Regions from separate parts of the Homo sapiens genome. Here all the other regions are linked to region 1. Evidence: promoter capture Hi-C in human tissues and cell types (Jung and others, 2019). All regions are on one chromosome and are shown on one strand. The core of a region is centred on a gene start or on the middle of the fragment in contact, and the rest is flanking DNA. Distances in the headings are between cores, read along the strand shown.

Region 1 (3,857 bases), core at 811-3,310:
ATCTTCTGTTCCCCATCATGCTTTTAATAAAATTAACTAGTATAAGAATCTCCATAAACGAAGTACCAAAATGTTTACATTTATATTTCTGAAGCGCTAATAACATGACAAATACATGCTGCACATTTTATGTCTTAACTCACTTAATTCTCCCAAAGAGTCAAGTCCTAAGCGTTATGATCATCTCTTTAAAAAAAAAAAAAATCCAAAAATTGGGTATCAGAGAGGATAAGTAACTTGCTCAAGGTCGTACAGCTAATGAGTGGTGGAACTGGGATTTCAGTGTAGGCCTGACCTGGTTTTAATCACACTGCTGTAACAACACCTGGATTGTTTTTGTGCAAGACTTTCAAAACTGACAGAAGGAGAAGAACAAGAAAAACTCAACTGAGAATGGAAACTCTTAAAAATATAGATTAAAATAATTTGGAGGGTAAAAGCAAATGAAATACTTTCCCAAGGATACCTCTGACAAAATTTGTAAAAAGAGAATTTCCTCTGGTACTAGAAAATTCATGTCCTCTTACTGGGCACTGGCAAATTTGAAAATTCCTCTTCTGCCTTTTGTAGAGCTGGGCGCACTGGGCTCAGACACATTTATCAGCTGCTATCTGGTGACTTCATCATTTTGGTGGAATTTCAAAGAACATTAATTTAGTTATTTAAAAACATACTTCAAATTTTTTTAAAACAATGTAATCTTTCCTTTGCAACTGTTTTTAGAAAAATGTCTAGAATTAGAAACGGCCAAATAACTTCACGATATTATTTTATTCTATTTGTGGTGTTCTTAACAGCTCCCACTCCTCAAAACAACCACACACATCACCAAAAAAATGCACCAATGACAATCTGCCACACTCCTCCCACAACTTGACATTATATGCACTGTACTGCTACCCTTTTCAGCCCGGGACAATGGAGTGTCCAGGCAAGAAGGAAACCACGGGTGACTATAACATTTTCCTTTAGATTTTGTGACATTGGCAAATATGCAGTTGCAACTACCATCAGTTACACAAGTAATGTTCATTTTTTCCTCTACAAGAAAAAAAAAAACAAAACCCAGATGTACTCTTTCACTCTAATTAGGCTTTCACTAATTTTCAGTAAAAAAGACTATGGTGACATATCCTGAAGAAGGAGGTATCCAATAAATATGCACCAACAAAAGAGCAGTGGAATTCCGCGCTGGGTACCGGAAATAGGGCAGCACTAGCGGAGGTGGGGAATGCGCTTCCAAGGGAGGCGGAACGCAGAGGGGATGCGAGATGGAGCCCGGGGAGCTGCCGCAGCGGGCGATGGCCCCGGCCGGCGCCGGCCGTTCTGGTTCGTGCATCTGCCGCTGCGGGTCGCGCGCTCTTACCTCGCAGCCCGCGAACCAGCCTCTCCGCCCAGGCCACTCGGGGCGGCTGCCCTTCCAGGGGGAGGTGGCGATGCAGCGGGTCCCCGCCGCCGACTGGGCTGGGGCACGGCGGGCCCTGGTCCTCTCGCCGGCGCCGCCTCCCGCTCGGGTGGCCCGCGCCGTGGTAGCCCCCAAGCCCCCGGCTCCGCGCGCCCACGGAGCTCACGGCCGAGGAGGCGGCCGACCTCCGGCTGCCCGGGCGCCACTCTACGTCCATCTCCACCACCATTCCGCCTTCTTCCCCTTCCACCTCCTCCTCCTCCTCCTCGGCCTCGAAGCCGGGGTTATCGCGGCTCCACGCCTGCCGGGAGCACGACGAGAGCGGAGGAGAAGGGGAGGCCGCGGCTCCGGCCGGGGGGTCCCGCGCGGCCGCCTGCCGGATGCGCTGCATCTCGATCTCCAGGCCCCGCTGCTCGCAGAGGCCGCCCGGGGCGGCGAGGCTGGCGCCCACGGCCGCGCAGCCAGCCATCAGCCGGCCCGGGTCCGGCGCGCGGGGCGCGGGCGGCCGCTTGGCGTCCCCGGGCTGCTGAGGCTGCACGCGACTGGAGTTCACCATCGCGGTCACTGGCGTCCGGCGCGCGGGTGCGCGGCGCCGCGCTCGGCGCTGTGCGCCTCAGGAGCCATGTTCCTTTCTTCCCGGCGCCCGCCGCCGCCTGCTCCCCGCCCCCGACCTCCCCGCGGTCCCGCGTCCTCTCGCCCGCCCCTTTGGCCCGCCTCCCTCTGGCCTCGCCCCGCCTCGCCCATCCGCCGCGGCGCGCTGAGCGGGGAGGTGCGAGGGAGCCGCCCCCGCGGTCTGCGCGCTCGCCCGGCGGCTCCCGAGTCCGCGTTCCAAGTGGAACCGGAGCCCGGGCGCGGGCGCCCACGTTCCATTCCCGGGAAGGCCTGGGAAGGGAGGGAATCGCTCACCCGCCAGCCCGCCTGCAGGGAAAGGGCTCCTGGAGCTGTCGATGCCTGCCCGACGCTGAGATAACTCTTGGGTCCCAGTTATCCACCAGCCACTTCTGCCTCGATTCACCAAAGGGCAGGGAAAGAACCTTTTGGTGAGATGGTGTGAATTAGCGACATCCAGCCTGAGCTGAAGTCTCCAGCGGGTCAAAGAAATCTTTCCATTTGCAAACTACCAAGGCTGACTTGCTGTGCATTTGGCGGGCCTCCTGCCCCTGATTCTGCTGGTTTGGAGATGCTTTCTCGCTCTTTGGTTGGCTTCTGTCTCCACACATTGTGGGGATCCCAGGGATTCGTCATAGGACTCTCGGATCGCTGGTGCCTCCACTGTGATCTCCGGTCTCCCTGCGGCCAGCACTGACTTCTAGCAACAGAATCCTGCATGAGGGCCTAGGCACAGAACTTTATTTCCACTCTTCTGAACACATCTAATGTGATGCTCTGCAATTGTCTGAAATTTATCCTACCCTAAGTCATTATCTTGTCCCCTTCTCTGGAACCTGCTTCACTTCCCGTATCCCAAGGTGAGGTTTGGGGCTTCGCTGTCCTCCTCACTTCCCAGGCCACTCTTCTTCATGGAAGCCTCGCGGTTTACCCTCCACCGCCTACACCTTATCTTCTTGTTACTTTTGCCCCACAGATATCACCCTGATATGATCTCTGTTTCTCACTCCTGCTGGCTTGATCTTATGTCTTGCATTATTCCGCATTAGAACAATTGATCCCTGTCAACTCCCATCTCTATTCTCCACGTCGGTGTCCTCACTATTTCCAGGTTATATTGCAGAACCAAAGCTGCTTATTTGTCACGTTGATGCTTAGACACCTCTGTGGGCTTCTGGCAGCTGAAAGGATAAAATTTAATTTCTGTGGTTTGGTTTAGTAAATTCTCATAATCTGCTCCTGTATTTGTTTGTTAGGGCTGCCATAACAAAGTACCAGAGACTGGGTGGCTTAACAGAAATTTATTTGCTCACCTTGTCTCTACAAAAAATACAAAAATTAGCCAGGCTTTGCGGTGTGTGCCTTTGGTCCCAGCTATTAGGGACGCTGAGGTGGGAGGATCGCTTGAGCCCGGGAGGCAGAGGATGTAGTGAGCCAAGATCGGGCCACTGCACTCCAAGTGACAGAGTGAGACTCTGTCTCATAAAGAAAGAAAGAGAGAGAGAGAAGAAAGAAAAAAAGAAGGAAGGAAGGAAAAAGAAAAGAAAAATTGTATTTTCTCACGAGGTGTTGGCAGAGTTGGTTTCTTCTGAGGCCTCTCTCCTTGGCTTGCAGATGGCCCCGCTTTTGTGTCCTCACGCCGTCTTCCCTCTTCCCTCTGTATGCGTCTGTGTCCTAATTGTCTATTCTTATACATCATATTGGATTAGGGCCTACCCTCATGACCTTGTTTTCACTTCATTACTTCTGTAAAGACCCTGTCTCCAAGTATGGTCATGTTCTGAGGTAATGGGGGTTAGGACTTCAACACAGAAATTTTTGGGGGGACACAATTTAGCTTTAA
Region 2 (3,857 bases), core at 877-3,376, 200 kb before region 1:
TAGTCAGTGTTAAAGTGTAATGACATGAAATTCAAAGCTGAGATCTTCTGGGGAAAGTTATTAGATGATCCACTTTGGGATGTTCATATTTTTTGGTAGTCGCTCATCTCAGAATAAGCAATATCAGAAAGTGAAATTTTAATCACAAGAGGGCGCCAGAGTCCAGCAAATGATTACTTTTGGTTTTCACCTAAAGCTAGGGCAATCATACTTTTGAGAGAGGAAGAGGCCACTACTAATAATTATTTGGGGGCGGTATGTGTAAATTGGGACATAGACTCACACCTTCTCCTACACTATGTAAGCATGGGCAATTTAAGAATGAACTAGCTGTGCACCAAAAGCTCTAATTCCCATAAATCACTCGAAATGCTTTTGACTGCAATCAGGTAAGACAAAAATGGCCAAACTTGATTTTATCTGGAAGAGAGGCTTGAGAAAGACTTTCCCCTCTGGCCCACATCTCTAGTTCTATTTATTGCTTATCCCGTTTTTCCCTTTAGTGCAGTACCGGTTTGACTGTATCTTCAAGTTAAGAGAATTGCTGTATTCCCCAAAATATCTTGGTCATTTGAAAGTAAAGAGTTCTCGGCCGGGCACAGTGGCTCACGCCTGTAATCCCAGCACTTCAGAAGGCAAAGGTAAGCGGATCACGTGGTCAGGAGATCGAGCCCATCCTGGCTAACACAGTGAAACCCCGTCTCTACTTAAAATACAAAAAAATTACCCAGGTGTGGTGGTGTACTCCGGTAGTCCCAGCTACTCAGGTGTCTGAGGCAGAAGAATCACTTGAACCTGGGAGGCGGAGGTTGCAGTGAGCGGAGATCGCGCCATTGCACTCCAGCCTGGACAACAGAGTGAGACTCCATCTCAAAAAGAAAATTAAAACGAAAACATGATGATGGAAATAACAGACACTGGGGTCTCCAAAAGTGGGGGGGGGTGGGGCAGGGGTTGAACAATTACCTATCAGGTACAATGTTCACTATTTGGACATTGGGTACACTAGAAGCTCAGTCCCCACCAGTATGCAATCTGCTTATGTAACAAACAAGCACGTGCAACCCTGAATCTAAAATAAAATAATTTTTAAAATACACAATGAAAGTGGCTTTTGTTAAGTCCCCTGTTTAGCACATCCTCTCCTTAATTAGCCAAACTACTCTCTCTTCTTCTTTTACATATATATATATATTTTTTTTATTTTTTAATTTTTTTAGGGACCAAGCCTCTCTGTGTTGCCCAAGCTAGAGTGCAGTGGTTAATCCCTGGTGCAGTCACAGGGCACTACAGCCTCGAGTTCCTGGCCCCAAGAAATCCTCTCACCTCATTCTCCTGAGTAGCTGGGAATACAGGGGCAGAACATGGCATCTGCGCCTCTTCTTAACAAATGCAAATAAAATCAACTCTGGCTTCTGTTATTCCTTGAAAAAAATGTATGTATGGGTCAGGTGTGGTGGCTTATGCCTGTCATTCCAGCATTTTGGGAAGAAGCTAGGAGTTCGAGACCAGTGTGGGCAACAAAGCAAGACTGTCTCTATAAAATATTAGCCAGTTAATGGTGGCAAGTGCCTATATTCCCAGGTACTCAGGGGCTGAGGTGGGAGAATTGCTTGAACCTAGGAGTTTGAGGCTGCAGTGAGCTATGATTGTACCACTGCACTCCAGCCTGGGCAACAGAGCAAGATCCCATCTCTTAGAAAAAAAAAAAGAAAAGAAAAAGTATGTATTTATAGCTACCAGCACACTTTTAACTATATGGGGCTTATTTCTACCATTCTTTTTGTTTTAGAACAACATCCTTCATCCTCACTGAATGGGATGAATGTAAATAGGACCTCAAGAAAATAAGGCAAAGGTAAGGCTGCTGGGGAGAGCATTTCAAAATAAACTACAAATAGATTTTACAATTTATTTTACTCTCCTTCAACGAACACAAAAATATTGCATTACTAGCCAGGCACAATGGTGCCTGCCTCCAGTCCCAGCCACTGGAGGCTGAGGTGGGAAGGTTGCTTGAGCTCAGGAGTTCCAGTCCAGCTTAGGCAACATAGAGAGGCACTGTCTTAAACGTATATATGTATATGTGTGTGTGTGTGTGTGTGTGTGTGTGTGTGTGTGTAGGATTACTTACATTACTGACATCTTTAACCTAATTATATCTAATTCAATCAAAACATTTTATTACCAACTTATATGTGCATGAGCATTCTACACCTGTAGGAATACCCACAAGGTAATAGTCTTATACAGGATGCTTAGGGTGTTTTGTTTTGTTTTGTTTTATAGGACACATCTTTAAGATGCATTCAAAGAGTGATCTACCACTAGGGTACAAAAGCAAAAAACGTATTCAGTCAAAAATAACTGACAACTGGGGAAAATGGTGAATAGCAGAGAAGATTCTGTTTATTAGTTTTATCTTTAGGTTATCTTTGGCAAAGGAAAAGCACAGTATATTGCTACTACCACGTAGCTTGAATCTAAAACTTATCATTACTTATTATTTTATATAACATTGCCAACACCAACACAACCCCTGCTAATCAAACTGAAAAATTTTCTTTCACTTAAAATTTTTATTTTTTACTTATAGAAAGAGGTATGAACTTTGTTTTTTGTTTTTGTTTTGTTTTTTGTTTTTTTTTGAGACAGAGTCTTGCTCTCACCCAGCCAGGCTGGAGTGCAGTGGCATGACATCAGCTCACTGCAACCTCCGGCTCCCAGGTTCAAGCGATTCTTCTGCCTCCTGAGTAGCTGGGATTACAGGCGCTCACCACCACGCCTGGATAATTTTTGTATTTTAGTAGAGATGGGATTTCACCATGTTGGCCAGGCTGGTCTCAAACTCCTGACCTCAGGTGATCCATCTGCCTCAGCCTCTGAAAGTGCTGGGATTATAAGTGTGAGCCACCGCATCCGGTCTGAATTTTGTTTTTATTTATTTTGTTTTTTTTGGTGTTTCTTGTTTGCTTTTTTGTTTTTTTTTTTTTTTTTGAGATGGAGTCTCGCTCTGTCGCCCAGGCTGGAGTGCAGTGGTGCCATCTCTGCTCACTGCAAGCTCTGCCTCCCTGGTTCAAGTGATTCTTGTGCCTCAGTCTCCTGAGTAGCTAGAATTGTAGGTGTGTGCGACCACACTTAGCTAATTTTTGTATTTTTAGTAGAGACAGGGTTTCGCCATGTTGGCCAGGCTGGTATTGAACTGACCTCAGGTGATCCGACTGCCTCGGCCTCCCAAGGTGCTGAGATTATAGGCTTAAACCACTGCACCTGGCCAAGGTATGAACTGTTTTGTTTTGTTTTTTTTGAGACAGTCTCGCTCTGTCACCCAGGCTGGAGTGCAGTGGTGTGATCTCGCCTCACTGTAACCTCCGCCTCCCAGGTTAATTGGTTAAGACCAATTTTGTCAGTCCAATTTCAAATGTTATAATTAAATAAGTAATTTAGGCTTTTGATTTAAAGTTGCAATACCACAAGTTTGGAGAAAATAGTGGGACACTTGAAATAAGTTAGGTTGGCCATATTTATGGATTCAATTTATTTGCTTTGTCTGGGTTGATTGAGCACTTGGGAAAGTTCAGTTTTTTAAATTAAAAAATGGAAGTACCTTGGTATGCAGAAAAAAGTTAACAGAGCAGATCTGTTTGAGGCTGCTATCCCTAGAAAGCCCTGCTTTTGAGCTTGATTCTTAGGGAGCATCTGGAAGTTGCTTCACAGTGTCCCCAGTTATCAGTTAACTGATAAGGGTGGGTCACACACTTGCTTTCTTTCCTTCTGAGACTCTGTAATTTTGGTTTCAGAGTGTATCTACCCGACCAGCCCTCCTAAAAACCTTGGGCCCTAAGTCTCTAGTAGAG
Region 3 (3,857 bases), core at 883-3,382, 140 kb before region 1:
GCTCAGGACAATGCTTATGCTGATAAGTTAGCTAAAAAAGCAACTAGTGTTCCAACTTCTGTCCCTCAGGGTCAGTTTTTCTTCTTCGCATTGGTCACTCCCACCTACTCCCCCACTGAAACTTCCACCTATCAATCTCTTCCCACACAAAGCAAATGGTTCTTAGACCAAGGAAAATATCTCCTTCCAGCCTCACAGGCCCATTCTATTCTGTCATCATTTCATAACCTCTTCCATGTAGGTTACAAGCCGCTAGCCTGCCTCTTAGAACATTTCCTTTCCATCGTGGAAATCTGTCCTCAAGGAAATCACTTCTCAGTGTTCCATCTGCTATTCTACTACTCCTCAGGAATTTCTCATGCCCCCTCCCTTCCCTACACATCAAGCTCGGGGTTTTGCTCCTGCCCAGGACTGGCAAATTAGCTTTACTCACATGCCCCGAGTCAGGAAACTAAAATACTTCTTGGTCTGGGTAGACACTTTCACTGGATAGGTAGAGGCCTTTCCCACAGGGTCTGAGAAGGCCACGACGGTCATATCTTCCCTTCTGTCAGACATAATTCCTTGGTTTGGCCTTCCCACCTCTATACGGTTCAATAGAGGACCGGCCTTTATTAGTCAAATCAGCCAAGCAGTTTTTCGGGCTCTTGGTATTCAGTGAAACATTTATATCCCTTACCATCCTCAATCTTCAGGAAAGGTAGAACGGACTACTGGTCTTTTAAAAACACACCTCACCAAGCTCAGCCACCAACTTAAAAAGGACTGGATAATACTTTTACCACTTGCCCTTCTCAGAATTCGGGCCTGTCTTCGGAATGCGACAAAATACAGCCCATTTGAGCTCCTGTATAGATGCTCCTTTTTATTAGGCCCCAGTCTCATTCCAGACACCAGACCAACTTGGACTGCGCCCCCAAAAACTTGTCATCCCTACTATCTTCTGTCTAGTCATACTCCTATTCACCATTCTCAACTACTCATACATGCCCGCTCTTGTTTACACTGCCGGTTTACACTGTTTCTCCAAGCCACCACAGCTGATATCTCCTGGTGCTATCCCCAAACCGCCACTCTCAACTCTTAAAGTAAATAAATCATCTTTGCTGGCAGGGCTATGCTGAACCTCCTTAGGCACTCTCTAATTGGATGTCCTGGGTCCTCCCAATTCTTAGTCCTTTAATACCTGTTTTTCTCCTTGTCTTATTCCGTTCTTTTTTCAATTCATACAAAATTGTATCCAGGCCATCACCAATACTTATATAGGACAATTGTTTCTTCTAACAACCCCACAATATCACCCCTTACCACAAAATCTTCCTTCAGCTTAATCTCTCCCACTTTAGGTTCCCACGCCGCCCCTAATCCCACTTGAAGCAGCCCTGAGAAACATCACCCATTCTCTCTCCATACCACCCCCCAAAAATTTTCACCACCCCAACACTTTACCACTATTTTGTTTTATTTTTCTTATTAATATAAGAAGACAGGAATGTCAGGCCTCTGAGCCCAAGCTAAGCCATCATATCCCCTGTGACCTGCACATATACATCCAGATGGTTGGTTCCTGCCTTAACTGATGACATTCCACCACAAAAGAACTGAAAATGGCCTGTTCCTGCCTTAACTGATGACATTACCTTGTGAAATTCCTTCTCCTGGCTCATTCTGGCTCAAAAGCTCCCCCGCTGAGCACCCTGTGACGCCCCACCCCTGCCCACCAGAGAACAAACCCCCTTTACCCTTTACCTACCCAAATCTTATGAAATGGCCCCATCCCTATCTCCCTTTGCTGACTTTCTTTTCGGACTCAGCCCGCCTGCATCCAGGTGATTAAAAAGCTTTATTGCTCACACGAAGCCTGTTTGGTGGTCTCTTCACACGGACGCGAGTGAAAATTCATATTGCCTTAAAGTTTAAACATTATAGAGGACCTGACTGTATTTGCCAACTTGGATTCAGTCTCTTATGGGAAAGAAGTAAAATTGGTAGTATTTAGTAATTTTTTAAAGCTCCCATTTTTTTCTCAAATGAAACCCTGCCAGTGCTTCCAAAACAAATAATGCATATGTGAGCTTCTATCTATTAGGCTCTGGTAAGAAACCAGGATCATTTTATTAGCTGAGTAGCTTAAACTACATCCTAATATTATAATTTTGGTATCTGTTGATTGAATTCACAGTGAGAAAAGGATTTGAGACCCATATTTATGTTAGTCATACTAGCAATGAAGAAGTACTGTGTTTATGATGAGACATTATTTGGTCTGAGATGGTAACTGTACCCGTGGATTAGAGAGAGGATCCCTTGCAATAATTAATGAGCCCTTCTATGATTTTGGAGTACACACACATTACATGCTCCTTCTTTTATATCTTTGTATACTGGATCATGATGTTTTTTATTGTAGGTCTCAGAATTTTGAGAAGTAATGCCGCTGCTCACATTTAATTTTCTGTTAATAATTCTTTTTTTTTTTTTTTGAGATGGAGTCTCACTCTGTCGCCCAGGCTGGAGTGCAGTGGCGCCATCTCGGCTCACTGCAAGCTCCACCTCCCGGGTTCACGCCATTCTCCTGCCTCAGCCTCCCCAGCAGCTGGGACTACCGGCGCCCCTCCACCACGCCCAGCTACTTTTTTGTATTTTTAGTAGAGATGGGGTTTCACCGTGTTAGCCAGGATGGTCTTGATCTCCTGACCTCGTGATCCACCTGCCTCGGCCTCCCAAAGTGCTGGGATTACAGGCATGAGCCACTGCACCCAGCCTCTGTTCATAATTTTTACTGCAATTCCGATGATTGAATTATAAACTGGAAGGGAGCAGGGATATTGATCTTCATGTAGTTGACATGTACTAGACTCACGGAGAACAAGGACTGGGTTGTAGGCACAATGCTGTGTGGTTTTGGGTAAATCTAACTCACACTCAACTTGATTTTGTTTCCCCCTGGGGACTTAGGATCCCAAAATGTTCTAATGACCCACCTCACTGCTGCTAATCTTCCCACAGTGCCAATTTGGTGGAGTCAACCTTGCAAAGGGAGAAGAGAAAGGGTGATGACTTTCCCAGAGCTTCTGCCGCTGTCCTCCCTATGTCTTCTAGCCCCAGTCACTACTCCTTTTATTTAAATTCATAGGGGCTTCTCAGTCAGTCCCCTCTTAAATGTAAATGAGTTATTCACTTCCTGTGGGCCTGAAGCTGAACCACTGTCATTTATTTTTGACCTTGTTTTCCCAGTTTGGGCAGTGTAAGAGGAGGTCAGGAAATGGAATTGTTTGGGGCAGGCGATTTTGCAGAACATGCACAGATAATAGGTTTCAGGGAGCTCTCATAGGCTATGGAGGGAGGGGTGCAGGACAGTGTCCTCATCTTGGCTCTTGATATTATTATGGTGGACTCTTATGTGGTCTCCCTGCATTGTCCCTACCCATGACCAAAGTCAGAGTGATCCTTTAAACCAAGCTTGTCCAACGTGCATGTGGCCCAAGATGGCTTTGAATGAAGCCCAACACAAATTAGTAAACTTTCTTAAAACATTATGTGATTTTTGTTTTTAATTTAGCTCATCAGCTGTTGTTAATGTTAGTGTGTTTTATATGTGGCCCAAGACAATTCTTCTTCCAGTGTGGCCCAGGGAAGCCAAAAGATTGGACACTCCTGCTTTAAATATAGATATCATTTCTTCACTCAGAACTTTCCTGTGCCTTCCAGTGCCATTCAGATCAAAGCCAAAGTCCTTCCTGTGGTCAGTGGTAGATACAACCCGAGTTCCTGCTCTCTTATCCTCCCTCACTCTGCTTCAGCCTCACTGGCCTCTTTGCTGTTCCTTCGACCAGCACTTGGACATATACTGCTCC

What was found. The method cuts DNA at HindIII sites, captures the fragments that hold promoters and counts their contacts. A contact is called where the count stands out against the background at its distance.
Region 2: a contact is called between a fragment that was not itself captured here and the fragment with the promoter of PKD2 in region 1, in 2 of the 25 tissues and cell types used here (H1 embryonic stem cells and hippocampus).
Region 3: a contact is called between a fragment that was not itself captured here and the fragment with the promoter of PKD2 in region 1, in 1 of the 25 tissues and cell types used here (H1 embryonic stem cells).

Annotation. Positions count from the first base shown.
Region 1 is chr4:88,005,838-88,009,694 of GRCh38, reverse strand. PKD2 (polycystin 2, transient receptor potential cation channel) reads right to left here and starts at 2,060. Exons shown (of 15, transcript NM_000297.4): 1 at 1,367-2,060. The coding sequence starts at 1,961. RefSeq lists silencers at 1,178-1,317, 1,368-2,297. The HindIII fragment of the contact is 15,667 bases long and covers 1-3,857 here.
Region 2 is chr4:88,208,450-88,212,306 of GRCh38, reverse strand. It overlaps a transcript of ABCG2 not described here. Among named protein-coding and RNA genes, the nearest start is that of ABCG2, 52 kb to the right of the region's middle. The HindIII fragment of the contact is 7,328 bases long and covers 1-3,857 here.
Region 3 is chr4:88,150,365-88,154,221 of GRCh38, reverse strand. The region is part of intron 1 of ABCG2 (ATP binding cassette subfamily G member 2 (JR blood group)); the gene reads left to right. Among named protein-coding and RNA genes, the nearest start is that of ABCG2, 6.3 kb to the left of the region's middle. The HindIII fragment of the contact is 6,040 bases long and covers 1-3,857 here.